Regions from separate parts of the Homo sapiens genome. Here regions 1, 2 and 3 are each linked to region 4. Evidence: promoter capture Hi-C in 16 types of primary human blood cells and fetal thymus (Javierre and others, 2016). All regions are on one chromosome and are shown on one strand. The core of a region is centred on a gene start or on the middle of the fragment in contact, and the rest is flanking DNA. Distances in the headings are between cores, read along the strand shown.

Evidence for each region. The method cuts DNA at HindIII sites, captures the fragments that hold promoters and counts their contacts. A CHiCAGO score of 5 or more calls a contact.
Region 1: a fragment that was not itself captured here is called in contact with the fragment with the promoter of BRS3 in region 4 in 1 of 17 cell types (naive CD8 T cells); the score reaches 5.0 in naive CD8 T cells.
Region 2: a contact is called between a fragment that was not itself captured here and the fragment with the promoter of BRS3 in region 4, in 1 of 17 cell types (total CD8 T cells). The highest score is 5.6, in total CD8 T cells.
Region 3: a contact is called between a fragment that was not itself captured here and the fragment with the promoter of BRS3 in region 4, in 1 of 17 cell types (naive CD4 T cells). The highest score is 5.3, in naive CD4 T cells.

What each region holds. Positions count from the first base shown.
Region 1 is chrX:136,705,081-136,709,831 of GRCh38, forward strand. It overlaps ARHGEF6 (Rac/Cdc42 guanine nucleotide exchange factor 6), which reads right to left. Exons shown (of 22, transcript NM_004840.3): 8 at 3,595-3,690; 9 at 1,828-1,950. Among named protein-coding and RNA genes, the nearest start is that of CD40LG, 59 kb to the left of the region's middle. The HindIII fragment of the contact is 1,141 bases long and covers 2,701-3,841 here.
Region 2 is chrX:136,689,261-136,693,998 of GRCh38, forward strand. ARHGEF6 (Rac/Cdc42 guanine nucleotide exchange factor 6) reads right to left here. Exons shown (of 22, transcript NM_004840.3): 10 at 1,350-1,488. Among named protein-coding and RNA genes, the nearest start is that of CD40LG, 43 kb to the left of the region's middle. The HindIII fragment of the contact is 5,738 bases long and covers 1-4,295 here.
Region 3 is chrX:136,239,703-136,244,223 of GRCh38, forward strand. It overlaps MAP7D3 (MAP7 domain containing 3), which reads right to left. Exons shown (of 19, transcript NM_024597.4): 5 at 1,458-1,575; 6 at 680-784. Among named protein-coding and RNA genes, the nearest start is that of MAP7D3, 9.4 kb to the right of the region's middle. The HindIII fragment of the contact is 190 bases long and covers 1,197-1,386 here.
Region 4 is chrX:136,485,797-136,490,227 of GRCh38, forward strand. BRS3 (bombesin receptor subtype 3) reads left to right here and starts at 2,151. Exons shown (of 3, transcript NM_001727.2): 1 at 2,151-2,752; 2 at 4,337-4,431. The coding sequence starts at 2,319. The HindIII fragment of the contact is 2,387 bases long and covers 425-2,811 here.

The sequences.
Region 1 (4,751 bases), core at 2,021-4,520, 220 kb after region 4:
AAGCCAAGGTGGGCGGATCATTTGAGGTCAGGAGTTCGAGATCAGCCTGGCCAACATGGTGAAACCCCATCTCTACAAAAATTAGCTGGTCGTGGTGGTGCGTGCCTGTAATCCCAGGTACTCTGGAGGCTGAGGCAGGAGAATCGCTTGAATCTGGGAGGCAGAGGTTGCAGTTGTGCTCCAGCCTCGGTGACAGAGCAAGACTCTGTCAAAAAAAAAAGGAAGGGAAGAGGAGGGGAGGGGAGGGAGAAAAGAAAAGGGTAACTTTCTATTGCTTAAGCCAGGTGGTAGATACACAGGTGCTCATTTTATTGTGATCCTTTAAATTTGCATTTACATTATTCTTTCTGTGGATAAAATATATGTCTTAATAAAAATATTTTTTAGAAGTCTGACAGACCTGGATTCTGGCTCAACCACTTAAGATCTATGAGTTCTTGGGCACATTACTTAACCTAAGCCTTCCAATGTCTTATCTGTAAAGCAGAGATGGTAATAATAATAACTCCCTCATAGGCTTTTACATCATGTGCCTGGCACATCGTCAGTGCTATTACTAGCTAATGTTAGCTATAAGCAGTTGAGCCACTTGCCTAAAAATGCCAGGTTCATGACCTCTCTTTCTTTAAACTCCAATTTCCATATTTGCTATTCCATAAGAGTTCAAAATTTATCAGAGGAATAAAATTGACCTTCAAGCAGGACTTACTGCGTTCAACCTTTAAAATGTCCTTACATAACATCTTTGTAAAGCCAATAAATATTGCACCTTAATAAACCAGGACAAGAACCAAAATTTCTGTCATTTCTGGAGGCTCGTGTCAACTAATGTTCTAGCCTAGCTCTGGGAGCTCAAATCTAGGTCAGATTAAGAGAATATTATTTTCAGTCTTGAACAGCTTCCAGAATCCATGTCCATTCTGCATCTTAGTCTCCAAGTTAAGTCAAGAGTCTCTATATGTTGGACTTGCTTTTGTCCCACCTGGATTTCCAGCATATGACTTCAAAGGTAAAATTCTGTCACTAAGCCTGTCCTACAGTTTTCTGGCCCAGATGAATGTGTCAGTGAATGTGTCAGGGGTGGGTAGTCAGAAGCTAAGGATGGCAGGAGAGGTGTAACACTTATCTAGGTCCCTTGCAAGGACTCGTATTCTTAAAGGAGACACTATTCTATTGTTCATCATGAATCGGAAGCAACTTATATTCATGTATAATTATTATCAGAGCCCTTTGCTTAAAGTATCTGTCACACAGCTCACACCTGCTTTGTAGCTACATCATTGCCTAAAACTTTCTCTACGCAGACTAGGGAAGGCAAAAAGAGATGAAGCTACACAGTTTAGCTATGTGTCAGCAACTCAGAAAAAACATTCATTGGGGTAGGGGAAAGCTAAATGATAGGCTCGAAATAGAATTTTGCTTCAGGAAAGCCCTCCCTGACCCTTTCTTCACATCCCACTAAGTTGATATCATGTTAATGTTATCTCACAGAACCCTTTTAATTTACTGTTTCATAATATGACACGTTTACAACATTTAATTTAATATCTGCATTTCCCTCAAGATTCTGTGCTCAATGAGGGGAAGGACCTCCTCCTCCTTGTTCATTCCTGTATCCCCATCAGCTGGTACAGGGCCTTGCACATAGTAGGTGCTCAAGAATTTATTCATTGGATTAATGGACAATCAATCCATGTAACAATGAATCAATTCCTGGCATCATGAACAGGGATAATCAAGAGTCCAACTGAAGACCTTGGATTTCCAAATGACGTGGTCCTAAGAAAGGATCTCATTGCAAAAGTTGGGGAAATGTTAACTATTTACCTGTGCTGAGTGAGCACATTTACAGCTGAAGGATGGTTTGCACAGTAAGCCAGATACATAGATTTAAAATGAGGCATGAGACTCAGTAGACAACCTCCTACTTTGTGCTGGTTTTCTGGAAACCTGTAAACAAAATGGACAAAACACAGAATGTAAAATAGGAAACAGGAGGCAAAGGAAGATTATTCCAATTAAACCTGGCAGCATGAAAGCCTTCTGAATATTTTGCCAAGGTTAAAAGAGAAACTATATTATAACCATTTTACCCATGAAACTCAAATTCTTGCCCACTGCTTTAAACTCTAGCCACCAAACACAGTTGTAATACATAGGGTCAGATACTTACTTGGAATTAGTAGGTATGGTTGCTTGTTTGTTTTTAAGATGATTATTTTCAAATTTAGCTGGGTACACTAAAAATATTCTTGGTTAATTTATCTAAAGTTTGAGTACAGACAAAACTAATCAAATCCAAAAATGACATACCACAAAAGAATATTATGTAATCTTGGAGGCCTGGTGTTTGCTACGCAGGGTGGCCTCAAAAGTTTTTAAATTAATGTTTTAAATTATAAGCCACCTGTCTTCATTTGTAGAAAAATCAGAAAAGTGTAATAAGAAAAATGAATTTCTCAGACTCCCACCATTTGGAGATACTGACTCTAAAAATGTTGACATGTTTCTTGGGCTTTTTTCTACATGTTTCTCTATAAAATGGAAAACATAAGGATTATGAATCTAGTTTGTAATCTGCCCTTCTCGCTTAGTGAACATCTTTGCATATCAATAATCTAGATCCCTCTTGGCCCCTCAAGTCCCTTTAGTGTGGGCCCTCTCCATCGTTCTTCCTGGACAACCACCTGTGTCCTATTAAGCTTAAATAACAGGTAATCACCTCAATTTCCCTAGAGAGATGAAAGCTGCCAACTTCTTTAAGATACGCTGCTTGAAAAATTAGTCTTTCTATAGAGACATATTGCCTGATGATCATTATAGTTCACTGTAGTATGAAGTTAAACATCTGGACAATCTAGCTAGCCATCAAAAATGTGTTGGTTCACATAAAGATATACTTTTCCTTCCCCCACTTTCTGTGTGTTTCAACTCTTAATATAATAGACATAGTATCAGGAGCAATTCAAAGACACCAAATCTGTGAAACTGAATGAATCATTTGAATGACTTTTCCAAGTAATTTGCAATGTACAAAAGAAAATATGTAATCAGTGCCAGAGGTGTCATTCATGGTCAATTAAGACCTCATGTGTCTCCAGGGAGGGGACCATCACACACTGGGGCCTGTCGGGGAGTGGGGTGAAAGGGGAGGGAGAGCATTAGGACAAATACCTAATGCATGCAGGGCTTAAATCCTGGATGACGGGTTGATAGGTGCAGCAAACCACCATGGCGCATGTATACCTATGTAACAAACCTGCACGTTCAGCACATTTATCCCAGAACTTTAAGGAACATTAAAAAAAAAAAAAAGACCTTATGTGTCTCTTATACTGACCAGAAACAGCAAACTGATGTATTTTTTAAATAAAGTCAAAAGTAATTTACAAGATATAGACTTCTAATATACAACTAGTGGTTTGACACTGTGAACACTGCCACCTAGTACACTGTCTATGTATTGCTACTTTGTTCAGAGCTGTAACAAATACTTAACTATGAAGTGTCCTTATCAAAGGCAACAGGTAAAAGGAAAACAAAACACAAACAGCAATGTTGCTGGCTATCCTATCAGAAATATGCCACACTTACTTTGAACATTCTTCCAAGGCTTGGCAGAGTGTCTGTTGAAATGTGCATACTTCCTCGAAGTTTCCCAGTAAAGATGTAACCTCCACAGTACTCAGACTGAAAAAAAAATACAGTACATGTAGTTATCTATTGTAGTCTAGTTGGCTAATAGTTTGCTAATATATGGTAAATAAAAGGGAGGTAATACCTATATTTTAACTTTTGCTTTTTAATTTATAACAACTCTATTGTCTTAGGCAGCTTCTTAAGCTTCTCCCCTTGATTTTCTTTTATATAATAAGAATAATGATCCTAAAGAAATGGAGTGGTCGTAAGGGACAATTAGGTATTTTATAAAGCAACAGGTAAATTAAAACAAGTGCTTAATACTGAAGTATACAAATAGATAAAAATACATCATAGCTGTGAATAAGTGTAAAAAACTCTTGAGTACCTTCCTCTGGATGAACTGGAACAGTAATTGAAAGATATTATATATGCTCATATAATACACAAGAAAAAATAGCAAAATCAACTTTCTCCTAAACTAAAATGCTCATACATCAATTAAAGGAAATCTTTATGAGATGAAGTAGGAGGAAAAAAATAGTATTGATTTGTTTGTTTCTGGAGTAGAGTGAAGTCAAATAAAGGCAAACTGAACCACTTTATCCAGGGCCTCTGTATGAAGAATGTTCTTATCCATTCCTCCCCTACCAAACAGTAAGTGATAATAATAACAAGAGTCAACACTCATAGAGCACTGAACACTTACACAAGCATTTTACAATTAAAACCTTATTTTAACCTTACAATAACTCTTTAAGGTAGGTATTATGCCAGTGCTGTTTCCATTTTACAGGTGGGGAAACCCAGGCATAGAGAGGTTAAGCAAATCATCCAAAGGTACAAAGCCAGGAAATGCCAAAGACAGAAATTGAACCAAAACATTCTAGCTGCAGAGTCCATGCTCTTAACCACTTTTTGGGAGAAAACGTTTCTGAAGATTTGTTTAAAAAGCCAAGGTTGGGCTGGGCGTGGTGGTTCATGCCTGTAATCCCAGCACTCTGGGAGGCCGAGGCGGGTGGATCACTTGAACCCAGGAGTTCAAAACCAGCCTGGCCGACATGGTGAAACCCCGTCTGTACTAAAAATACAAAGAATTAGCCGAGTGTGGT
Region 2 (4,738 bases), core at 177-2,676, 200 kb after region 4:
TCTGATGATGGGAAATGAGAGGCAGCCAAAGACATGTGACCCACAGCAAATGGAAGCAGGAGGAGAACAGGCTCCACTACAAGAAAGACTGAGATATAGGATCCAGGCAGCAGGAGCATCTGGGATTTGTTTCTCCCCAAAATAAGTGCATATTTGCATTTCAACACTGAAAAGTAATAGAAACTGAGGCCACTCGTTTCTGGATTTTTGTGATAAGCAAGGAGGGGCAAACCTCAAACGGTTCAGCAAACTGGTTTAGCTTATGGAAAGGCATCCAGAGGTCAACACCTTCCTGAGCCCTAACTGAAATTTCACACTGACAGGCTTTGCTCACCAGCTCCCCACTGCCTCCGGCTTTCAGGCAGGTCAAATACCCTGAGAATGTGGTTTCGCTCAGAGAACATTCTTTCAATCCTTACAAATGCTGACAAGCCCGGCAGAGTGCGGGTGCACTCTTTTTCTTTAAAGATAATCAAACCCCTTGAAACCTCAAAACCTTTCCCCAGACACAGGAAGAGCAACTAGGGTAAATGCAGCCTCCTCCAGCAGGCCCTCCTCTCCCACCCACACTTAAATCCCCCATGAACAATCACAAAAGAATGGCTCAAGGAGCTAGCTCTGCTGATTGGTTTTTCATAACATGAGGCCTTTGGTTCTTGGTGAAAAAATATTCAATTATCAGGCCTCATTGCAAAATCTTAGAATTTAGAAAAGATTATAGCTATGCTACAACAGTTGCAAGTAAACTGTAGGCTTATAAATAAAAATGTGGGGGGACTCTGATGTACATGCATGATGTGTAGAGAGATACCACTAATATTGTATCCATCCATTAGTCTTTAAGGAATACCAGAATCTTCCACTGTTATCCAGAGTCAGGAAGTTGAATGATGGCAGAATTCTAGAGATAAATATTCCTGTCTATAGTGAACTTGTTCTTTGTACATTCTGATGTTGTTTTGCTCTATCTCCCACAATAAAGTTGGTTAATATACCAGAAACAAAGAAGATTTCTTAGTTGGATTTTGACCAAACTACTGAGAGGGCAAAAGAAAACTCAAGTTAGCAAGTAAGCATAGACTTAAGGGAAGCCACAGGACCAAGGCTTGGAAGAGAAGAGCGAAAAGGGAGAATGATCATTAATATCTAGTAGCAAAGAGTAAGGATCTTATTTTGCTGCATAAAAAGGAAAACTAGAAGCCTGAGAAGAGGGAAGAACAGATAAAGTAAATTTTGAATCCAAGACCTTGATTCCTCTGCAAGGCCATTTTGGAGGCAAATTGGCTGCGTCCTCCAGAGCACAGGACCATACTTGGCACACGAGCTTGAAAAAGTTCACCTTCCCTTACCTCCATATGCCGTTCTAACTCTTGCAAGAGAGTAACATATTTCTCCAGTCGCATGAATGGTTTGCTGAGGTTTGTTGTTAAAATGAGGATACCTGGGCTCGATGCACCTTGATTTTCCATGAATTGTTCCAACTCATCACTAGCAAAAGAACAAATATAATTTTGTTACTGTTGAATATCTCATGTAAAGAATTATCAACCTAAAATTATTTTACTGTATTTCACACAATATAAAGCCAAATAAAAATGTGTTTTACTAGTCCAAATGCTGTTCAATTTGTTTTGGCTCAACTAAATCAGGTTTTATTAAGCTCCTTCTGTAAAATCAGCACCAGGGCTCCTTTGGTGAGCCAGACACTCATGATCCCTGGTGTCACACATTCAACAATTACTGATTGAGCATCTACTAAGTGACAGGCTCTGTTCTCTGATGGGGCTACAGCAGTGAACAAAAAAAAAAAATCCCCACCCTTAAGGAGCCTACATTCATGGGCGTGAGATATACAGTGTATCAGATGACCCAGAACTTAAAGTATAATTTAAAAAATAGATTTTCTTAATCACTTCAAACGTCCTAGTTATTGGCTGGTCAGGTGCCTAAAGATAACAATCCACAAGGTTGTATCACCCACTTGTAATGTTCTAGAATCACTTCCTGCATTTAGATACCAGCATGTTTGTATGACTAACCACAAAGTCACTTAGCCCAATATCAAAAACCAGTGAAGCAGGTTAACCAAACACTTCCATAAGGCAGTAACTTGGTGAAAAAATATATTAATATTTTATGAACTGTGTGCTGTAAATGTCTAATTCTAAGCCAGTGCTTTTTCTGCTGTTTAGCACCGTTCCAAACTGTTTACTTTCCACCAACAGGGATATTGAGTCCTGGGGCTGCAAGATCATTTTGATACATATTTAAGCAAAATATACTTAGAGGAGGAAACCTACTGCCTAAGTGACAGCTTATGTTGAAACTTCTGCTTTATTACATGGCCCTTTTACCTCTTTGGTTGGCCATGCATATCCAGTCAGTCACAAATCTTCTTGGATCTGTTCATTCCTTTCCATTCCTGCTGCCACTGCCTTAGTTCAGGATTTCAGCTCATTCCATCTGGCTCACTTCAATAGACCAACTGTTTTCCTGGCTTCCAGGCTTTTTCCAGGTCCTACAGACTACCATTTTAGCCTCACTGCTTTCCTACCCAAGAGGCTGAGTGCCTACAAGATCAAGTCTTAACTTTTTAAACTCCTACTGGCTCCACCATCTTTCTCACTACTCCCCAGCAGGAAACCCCTAGTGCAAAGTGACCTACTTATTCTCCCTAGAACACGTCTTATGCCATGGTTCCCAACTGTGGTGTGCTGCTATAAGGTGTGAAGTGTGTTCAAAAAACTTGCTATCAGTAATAAAGTACTAGGAGGCTGGAAACAGAGCGGATTGCAGGTTATCCCTGCAATCCCCACCCACACTCTCCCTTCGTGGGCTTTTCTGAGCAGGAGAGAAAAGATGGAGTTTCAGCTAATGCAACAGCAGCCTTGAGTCATGCAGTATGGCACATATGTTGGGCTGGGAATGGCTGCCTTAATGGAGTCTAGATCACATATGAGAGGTCATATCTAGCAATTGCTGCTAATCCTTTTATAAAACTTTTACAAAATTATAGAGACAGGGTTTTGCCATTTTGCCCAGGCTGGTGTCGAACTCCTGGGCTCAAGCAATCCTCCCACCTCGGCCTCCCAAAGTGCTGGGACTACAGGCATGAACCACCGCACCCAGCCTGCTGCTAATCCTTTTATCAGTTTTCGTAGTCTTGTTCCAGAAGTAGCCAAAGGGAGGGAAATGTCCTAGACTTGGAGTCATAAAAGAGAGTTGGCAACCCTGGATGAGTTGCCTGAGCCTCAACTGACTCATGCTTATAAGAGAGATAAAACCTACTTCCTAATAAAATTGCAAAGATTAAATATTGGGGGTTTTAATGCTACTATTTCATGCTAAGAATTGTACATGCATTCATTCTTGTTTAATGACAACAACATTTCAACATAGGTGTTCTCCCCATTTTACAGATGAGAAAACTGAGAGGAAGGGTGATAGTAAGTGGCTACAGTGGGATTCATACTCAGGTCTGAAGCCAAAGCCTCAGGTCTTTTTAGGATGCCATACTGGCTCTCTGCAGGACAGGATTTTGTAAACTTTAAAGTAGTCAGTGGATGCATTATTATTATTATTATCCCAAGACAAATACCTTGCTAAAATCACATCTTTAAAAACTACCAGTACCTGTGGTTTCCAACTTAATGGAAATTCAATTGATGTTCAATTGCCAACCAAGAGCATAAAGTGCATAAAGAGGTTTAAAAATTCATTGCATATAAAATATAATTAGGGAAATAACTCGGGTTTGGAGTGCATTTGAGTAGAAATGTAATTTGGAGAAAATCATTTTCCTAATTTCTTTTCAATTTAGTAAACAAGTTTTATTTTTTCTTTCAGTGACTAAATGACTGCCCGCATCCTCAACATTTTACTCTAATTGATGCAAGAGTGAAAGCAATTAAAAGCAAATGCTAATGTGTACCTTATTATTACCTTCCATGCAGCATTCTAACTTCTAGGCTTGCTAAACATCATAAAACAATTTAAATTTATTTCAGTACAACATGAGATCACTATCTTGGATTAAAACACTGGTTCTTCAGAAAAGATAATTTTACTAGGGCAACAAAAGAACAAAATTGTCCTAAAATGCCTTTTATCTATGATAAATAGATCCTAAAAGACACATTTTATTTAGCCAAATAAACATAATACACAAATTAGTATCATTATACACAAATATAATACATAAATATATATTGTTATACCAAAGAACAATCTGTCTTTTAAATGTAGAATTTTATACAGCCCATTTGAAATAGCAGTGGATTAAGACTTGCTTTTCAAGCTTAAAATGTTCTGTATATGTGACATGATACAATAGAAGCAGTTCTCAGTGTATAAATGCTGTTTAAAACAACATACATTTATTTCATAGAATGCATGGTGGATGGGGCTCTGGGATATTCTGGGTTGGACTGGAAAGCTGAAGAAAGCTATGTATACTATAATAACACTACAGAGCTTAGCCATCTCATATAGAAGTGCTTCTGTGGCATCTTTGTATAGGTTTCTAATTTGAATGATCATAACTCTACCTAGCAGAAGGTCAGAGATTCCTCCTCTCCACCTCAATTACTACCCCACCAGCCCTTCGGGGGAAATCACTGTGGTCCAAAAGGGGTGGTGAGGCAAGAGGAGCTGGCTGCCACAGCCTCTGGCCAGTGGAAAATTTCAAGAGTGCCACTCACACTGGGTAGAGTGGTTCCCTTTCTTCTCTTTTTCATTT
Region 3 (4,521 bases), core at 42-2,541, 250 kb before region 4:
AATACTTAATGGAAATTGAATAACTGTCTAACCAGTCTGTAGAAAACACAATTTCATTTATATGTTGGTAGAATATGAACTAATCTTCAAATAAATAATTATGCCACTTAATGGCAGTGTCTTTTGACCAAAATATGTTTCAGTTTCAGCTACTGAGGTCCAATAATCCCATCTGATATGATTAACACAAACATCATGAAACAAGTATATTGATGAAAATACAAGGCCAGGCATGGTGGCTCACGCCTGTAATCCCAGCACTTTGGGAGGCCGAGGAAGGTGGATCACTTGAGGTCAGGAGTTCAAGACCAGCCTGGCCAACATGGTGAAACCCCGTCTCTACCAAAAGTACAAAAGTTAGCTGGGCGTGGTGATGCAGGTCTGTAATTCCAGCTACTTGGGAGGCTGAGGCACGAGAATCGCTTGAGCCCACGAGGCAGAGGTTGCAGTGAGCCAAGATCATGCCACTGCACTCCAGTATGGGCAACAGAGTGAGACTCTGTCTCAAAAAAAAAAAAAAAAAAGTATGACTATCTCTCTCCCTCTGCTGTAAAATAACATGGGACTCTTCTGAAATAAACATAAATGTTCCACAATCTAAATAGGTGGTACTGTAAAAATATAAAGAACTGATTTCATTTAATAGAAATTCAGTAGAATACATGAAATAACTACTTACTTTTGGCAACGGAATTTTGAAGGCCTGCAGATGACAAAGGCATTTGTCTGATTAAAGCAGAAGTACCCTGTTCAAGTTTTTCAGTAGATGCAGATCGTTTATTGGCTGAGAAAAGACATAATACTTACTGTAATCATATTTCAAGGAGGAAAGAATCATTAACTGAAAAAAAAATGAGTTTTCATGATATAGTTCTATGGAGCACAGACTTACATTACTCAAGTTCACAATATCACTGCCCGTCAATCCTTTTTTTTTAGTAGAGACGGGGCTTCACCATGTTGGCCAGGCGGGTCTTGAACTCTTGACCTCAAGTGATCTGCTCGCCTTGGCCTCTCAAAGTGCTGGGACTACAGGTGTGAGCCACGGCAACTGGCCAATCCTTCTAAACTACATAAATTTTACTTTTGTTTTCTGAAATTGTGTAGAATTATGTGCATATAAGAAAATTTACACTAAATCAATAGTAGACAAGGCAGACTTATTTTTAAAAATATGCATTTGATAAGCTGTGTAAAGCTTAGTCATTATTCAGCATTTTTCTGCTGATTATAAGTTTAAATAAGATTTTAGGTATATTGAGCTAAATAAAATCTACTATAACATTTCACCTGTTTCTTTTGCAATGGCATATGACAGAAATTTAAATTTACTATATACAGTATTTTTGTTTAGGATACAAACACTAAAATCTTGCTGTAAATGCAAGCTTCTACTCATAGCCAATATTTAAACAAGAACATAAACAAACTTAAAATTTAATGGGTGTATTAATTACCAGTTTTGCTCTCAGAATTCGCCATTGCAGAGCCTCCCCATGACCATCTTTTTTGCTGATAATCATCAGCAAGTCTCCTCCGTTCCAAAGTACGATAAAGAATGGCTGTAAATTTTTCCTATTTAAAATAAAAGCCAACATATTTTTACATATTCATCAAATTAGTATAATTTTGATCTGTGGTTTATAAAATAAACCATAACCAAATTTCTGTCTCAGGTAAAAGTTTAAAATAATTGGAGATATGTCTCAGCTATCAATCAATACCAGTGCTTCTCCTAAATAACTCATTTTTTTTTATCTTATGGACCTTGCATTAAGAAAATGACCATGCTTTCCTCTTTGTTTGTATCATTAGGAAATTTAGAGCCAAATGTGTAGCCTCTTTCTAGCAACTGTACAAAGACTGATTGGTATACTTTTGTGCATGCTAATCATACCTTATGTTTTATTTGCCTATGTTAGTTTTCCCCTCTGCTTGATTCCCCCAACCATTTATTTTTATCATCTGGTGTGGTATGTATTTTTAAGTCACCTTAAATTCTTTGTAGAATGAGGCAGGGGAAAAATCAGCACACATATAAGTTAAATTTATACCAGAATCATCTAGTATACTCACATCTGTAACAGCTAAAATTCTGGTGTTAACTAATAAAAATAAAGTTTCAAAAAAGATAATCAATATATTTGTCTTGACCTCAACTTTAGCTGGTCAAGACAACAGCTATACAAAGTAAATACCATGCTGCAGCAAAACAACTCCACTTCCAGAAATGAGCTCTTCTCTCAAATATTTCTCATCCTTGTACTGTGCCATACCATGAACTCAGGTAAGCAAATCAACTTTTAGGACCAGAGATCTTCTATTTTTCCCTAACAACAACCGTTTCATAGCAAACACCATCCTTACAAAGCCTCTACTGTTTCTACCAATGGCAAAGATAAACGTACTAGGAAAATGGAGATGAGCCATATCTTCTGAGAAGAAAAGCAACCGCAATTCTTAAAATAAAGTTGATACAATGGGCAACATTTGAAAATTATATTTTCTAACAGAAAGGCAGTTGTTCTGAATTACTTAGAAACCCTGAAACTATAATAGACTAAAAACAAAGATTAACTTTGTATTATTAAACTATTTCTGATTCTATTCCACTGTTTCCAAATGCATTACCTACTGTGCTCTCTTCCAGGTCCCTTCTCACATCGTGGCCACCCAGGGCTCACATAGAAGTTCCTATCCCATTTCATATACACCTCCTGTCCACACTCATCCCTCCTCAGCACCACTGAGTCTGGGTTTTTTTTTTCTGCTCTCCAGAATTCCTCTCTTTTGCTATATGTAGCCTACTTACAGTGTCCCATGTCCCCTGTTCTGTCTGGGACTCTCCCGCACTAGCTATCTGGGGTTTTCTTTTGCCCCTTCTCCTGCCATGTCTGTGGCTCCCTTTCTGTCTGCAGTGTCATTTTGCTGCATTCTCTTCTATTCTCTGTGTTCTCTCTGGCAGCTTCCTCTTTCTCTAAGATAGTCTTTATTTTTTGGTCTCAGTCCCTGTGACTTGTCTCTCTCCTCCATGGACTCCCACTCACTCTACACACAGTTTGTATTTCACTTTCTTTGGTTCTTTACTTAGTTCTTGGTTCTTTCTTCGTTTATCATTACTTAGTTCATTCTCTCTCTTTCTCTGGCCTTCATCTCTTTACCACAGAAAAGTAAAATAAGAGAGATGTTTCAAGAAGATGATGGAAAGTGACAGAAATTCTGAATGAGAGTCTACCAAATACTAGAGCATGAAACAGAGCATAAACAACCACAGAAAAGGGTTCAGAAAGGGAGAGATATAGTACACCATGGATGGGGAAAAAGTGGCACAAGAAGTGTCCTAGAATCAGGAAGCTCTCCAGATAGGGTGCAGGGCTGGAGAGGAAGCACGTACAAGAGCAAAGGTATGGATGAGGAGGGAGGAAACTGAGCACCGCAGAGAAAGACAAGAGGAAGCTTCATGGGAGAAATGGAACCAAAGAGAAAAGGAGAGAAAAAGAAATGCAAATATTAGAGTGACAGAAAATAAGAGAGGGAAATAAAAATACAACACACTGAGAGAATGGCAGGCAGAGGATATAAAGATGGGGAAAAACAGACAGAAGCTAAGACAAAGACAGAATAAAGAAAATCAAGCTGCCTCAGGCAGAAAAAGGCCAGAGTCAGAGACCAAAAGACAGACTAAGGCTTATTTAGGGACACTTAAGAATCCCTATAATAGGCTGGGCACAGTGGCTCACGCCTGTAATCCCAGCACTTTGGGAGGCCAAGGAGGGTGGATCACGAGGTCAGGAGTTCAAGACCAGCCTGGCCAAGATAGTGAACCCCCATCTCTACTAAAAACACAAAAATTAGCCAGGCGTGGCGGTAGGCGCCTGCAATCCCAGCTACTTGGGAGGCTGAGGTAGGAGAATTGCTTGAACCGGGGGGGCAGAAGTTGCAGTGAGCCAAGATCACGCCACTATACTCCAGCCTGGGCGACAGAGTGAGACTCTGTCTCAAAGAAAAAAAAAAAATCCCTGGAATAAAGAGAAAGAGAGAATGCCAGGAAGATAGAGGACAGTGTCACAGCGACCACGCTAGATTCAGAAGGAGTGAAGCATACTCCAAGTCAAGTAGTGAAATGACCTACAAGAGAAAAATTTGGTGTCAGAGAGAATCATACGGAATGAGACAGGTAGCCAGATGCCCAGTACCACAAAAGACAAACTGAAGAAAGACAGAAGTGAAAAAGAGAGGGCATAACAAAGCCACAGACTCATCCCAACAGAGTGCCAAAGACACCAAAAGAGAATCCAGAAAGGAAAAGAGAGGAGCAGTGCCACAAAACAAGAGCAAGAATGCTGACTCTGAACCACACATCCAGAGGGGCCCTGTCAGGAAAGGGAATGTGAGGAACACGGAGACAGAGGGTAGAGAGGGAGAGAGTGTGAGTGTGCACCAGAGGGAGCCAGGGAAGCTGAAAAGGAGAGCGAATGCCCTGATTTGGCTGGGGAGTCACACTTTTAAAGGAGTTGTGAG
Region 4 (4,431 bases), core at 901-3,400:
CTTCCATCTCTGATATTCTGGGATTCTGGAATTCTAGAGATCTAAGACCCCCACTGCTCCAGTACTACTCCAATACAACTACTCTCTCTTGACCGCTCTTGATCAGAAGGAAGAGGGAGAAGAAAAAGTATTCCAGTGGCTGCAGCCTGCTGAAAGCATGAGTGAGATCTGGGAATTCAGATAATCTCAGAAATCACATGCAAGCATTACAGAACTTACAAAACAGTGCCATGTGGAGATCGGCTGTGGTGTGAATTGGAAGACATGGTTTGCTCCTTGGTAAATGATACACAGGAGTCCCAGGGAGATTTTATCATTAGTTTGCTGAGAACAAGATGTGAACCCTTTAAGGAGCCCTTTTCTGTAGAGACAATCTTAAAGAACCAGCCCAGTGTATGAAATTACTAGAGTGTATATATCTGAAAGCTTAGGAACTTGGGTTTATGCAAACACTCCCCCGCACCCCCATTCCCATCAAAGGCAGTTATTTAGCTGAGTGATTCAAGCTGTGGCAATAACTTATAAAGGGTGGGGGATAGGTGTGGTTTGGGGGACTTAAACCACATCTGTCTTCCACCCTTCATGAAATTAAGGAGGTAATTGATTCAATTCATCCACTTCACTTTCTCTGAAGAACTGATTGCCCCTACTAAGTATAAAGAACAACCTTTGTTGTTCCCCCTGTTCATTAGCTAGCCAAATACTTTGCTCTTTTTCACTTCGCTCCCCAGACTACTTTCTAATATGGTTATATTTATGAACACCTCACTACATGGTTTCTAGCTGAGAGATTATGCATTGCATTTGATAATTTCAGAGAATATTTCTTAGCAGCTTCAATTAGTAACTACACTCCAACTGCTAGCTTCCTGCTCCCAAACAGTGCCCCCACCACAAACACATACATATAAAGCACATGGTTATGTTTTCTGTAAAAAGTAGCTTCTCTGGCTGGTACTGAGGTGGTTGCCTTAAATGTGTACTTCTTTCAGTTGATGTAAACATCATCTACATGCCCATCATCCCTGGAGTCACCTATTTCATTTCTTCATCTGCAAATGATGATTTTCATTCTTAAAAGTTCTTTTGTGTCAGGAGCTTGAGCAGTGATGTTCTGTATTGTTTTGTTTTGGAATAAGGCAGGTTAGGTTCCCTTTAACCATTTCTAGAGAGAAAAATCCTAAACAGCCCCTTAAAAGAAAACATGGCATTAAAACAGACAGTCAAACAGTAAAAAGTGGTTTTATTAGGACATTTAGAGACAAAGCAACTGGTGCTGTGCCTGGATTTTTCATCTCTTAAAAGGTTGTTTTGGCTGGGTGTGGTGGCTCATGCCTGTAATCCCAGCACTTTGGGAGGCTGAGGCAGGCGGATTGCCTGAGGTCAGGAGTTCAAGACCAGCCTGGCCAACATGGTGAAACCCTGTCTCTACTAAAAATACAAAAATTAGCCAGGCATGGTGGCGGGCGCCTGTAATCCCAGCTACTCGGGAGACTGAGGCAGGAGAATTGCTTGAACCCAGGAGGTGGAGGTTGCAGTGAGCCAAGATCGAGCCACTGCACTCCAGCCTGGGTGACAGAGTGAGACTCCATCTCAAAAAAAAAAAAAAAATTAAAAAGGTTGTTTTGATAGTGTACAGCACAGCCTGGATAACTGCAAAGTTGGGGTTTACCACGTGACAGAGCTAGGTATTAAGCCCAAGTGACCTGAATGATCACTCCTTGGAGGTGACATAAACCCTGTCGAAGTGTAAATGATCTGTTGCTTCACCATCTCTCTGATATTAAATTTTGAGGAGTGGGTTCAAGGTTGTGCTTCAGGGGACACCTACACTTATTTATCATGTAAAACAAAATGCACTAGACTACCATGTGATTGCAGGGGGATAAATGGTTTTTTTCTTAAAAAAAATTGACAAAACCTATATAGACCATCCTGGGTAGATATGAAAACAGGGTGATTCTAATAATAAATAAGACGATTTAATAGGGTCTAGTTGGTCCCAAGATTCCCCAACAGGGAAGAATAAGCAACTGCAGAGCATTTCCCCAGCCCCCTCCCTCTCCTTATGACAGGACACGCCAATAAAACTCCACCTCCTACTCTTCAGTGCCAGATGGGTAAGCATTTAGCCAAGCATGCTGGGAGACACACAGAACTGAAGCAAAGGAGTATCTGGATGTCTTGGATTTTCTTCCCATTCTGTTCTGTTCTGTTCTCCTAATACCATCTCGTTACTAGACGTAGGCATTGGACGTGACAATCAACTGCATTTGAACTGAGAAGAAGAAATATTAAAGACACAGTCTTCAGAAGAAATGGCTCAAAGGCAGCCTCACTCACCTAATCAGACTTTAATTTCAATCACAAATGACACAGAATCATCAAGCTCTGTGGTTTCTAACGATAACACAAATAAAGGATGGAGCGGGGACAACTCTCCAGGAATAGAAGCATTGTGTGCCATCTATATTACTTATGCTGTGATCATTTCAGTGGGCATCCTTGGAAATGCTATTCTCATCAAAGTCTTTTTCAAGACCAAATCCATGCAAACAGTTCCAAATATTTTCATCACCAGCCTGGCTTTTGGAGATCTTTTACTTCTGCTAACTTGTGTGCCAGTGGATGCAACTCACTACCTTGCAGAAGGATGGCTGTTCGGAAGAATTGGTTGTAAGGTGCTCTCTTTCATCCGGCTCACTTCTGTTGGTGTGTCAGTGTTCACATTAACAATTCTCAGCGCTGACAGGTGAGTTTCTTTTCTCCATTATATTTGCCAGGATGTGAAATTGGGCAAAAAGAAAGGAAAGCTTGTACTTAGCATTTACTGGCTACTATTCTGCTTTTCTCACACTCTGTAACGTGGATGTGAGATTGGAAAATCTGGTGGCATTTAAAATAAAAGTTAGTGTAAGAATGTTAAAATTTCTGTGTTAGCACGGAGGAGAAGTTGAAATTGCATGCTTTATGGATAATTTATTCTTATTGTTTGCTCGGAAGTATACTGAACGGGGTTTTTATTTTTCTCCAGTTTATTAAGTAAAGCAAATTGTTCCAGGTGTAAAGGAAAAAAATTCATGCTTTATACATTAGTGCAGCCTAGTGGTGCAATATAGTCAACATGAAAACCAGGATAGGTGTGAAATTGACCACATATGTATAACTGTATATTGGAAGAGTGGTAAAAAGACACAGGCATCTAATTTATTTGAAATTCATCAAATTAGCTAATGGCAGAAAAACGGTGAGGTTTTCAACTCCCTGGTAACTTAGTGTAATGTCATCACGTAATTCTACTTGTTTTCTCTGTAGGCATTCAGTGACATTATCATTTCCAGAGAAATAAATTAATCTTGGTTGACTTTTAGAGCTCTGTGGAGAGAGCGTGTGAGATCCTCTTGCAGTCAGGGTGTTCAGATTCTGTGTTAGGATATTTTCAGTCCAAGTACTCTGTTTTTCTGTGTTCCTATTGTAGAATAACTGTAAAAACATGAAAAAATTTGAGGCTCCAAATGTTAAAAATGATGCTTTACAAAGCCTGCAAGATTCCTGTAAGTAATCGATGTTTGGCAGTACCAGAAGGAATAACTTCTTCAGATTCTAGAATCTGAGAGGAGGAAAACCTTTCCCTGTGTCTTTTGATGATTTTTGCTTTGACTGGTCTTATATTCTATTTGAGGGCAGACTGGCTTAATGACTGTAGATTTTAAGGTGGATTTGTTTGAATGAGGAGGTATCTCTGTACCGGCACAGGACTTCTGATTGCAACTTTGCCTCGCCCTAAATCTGTCCACTGATCAGGTTGGGCAACGAATTAACACTTACAAACGGGGAAGAAATTAATCCTCTCCTCTTTACCACATAAACCCTTGGAATTCTCTTCTAGGAAGGTTGATAACTGTTCACTCATGAAGAAAGGAAAATTAATTCAGTTTAACATCAGTCACTTATACAAAAGAAGTCTTTTAGGTACCTTAAGTGTATTACACTTAAGGTAATACACAGGTGGTGAATTACTCTCAGTCACACATAAAGTCATGCTGATAAATGTTTATTTGTCCTAAATAGAGAGTCTATACATAAAATTATAAAATTGCAAATCTGGAATATCTCATAGGAGTGAATAATGGAAAAGGAGATTAGCATAAATAAAAATATTGGGATGTATTATGTGCATTTAAAACCATAGCCAATTCTAGTTGGTTAATGTTGACTTGGTTATACACATATGCACGGAGGGTAGAACTGGATGACCACTAAGGTCACTTCTCACCCTAAAATTTGGTAACTTTGACATTTATTTGGACCTTTGCCTCTGATTATGTGTTTCTAGATACAAGGCAGTTGTGAAGCCACTTGAGCGACAGCCCTCCAATGCCATCCTGAAGACTTGTGTAAAAGCTGGCTGCGTCTGGATCGTGTCTATGA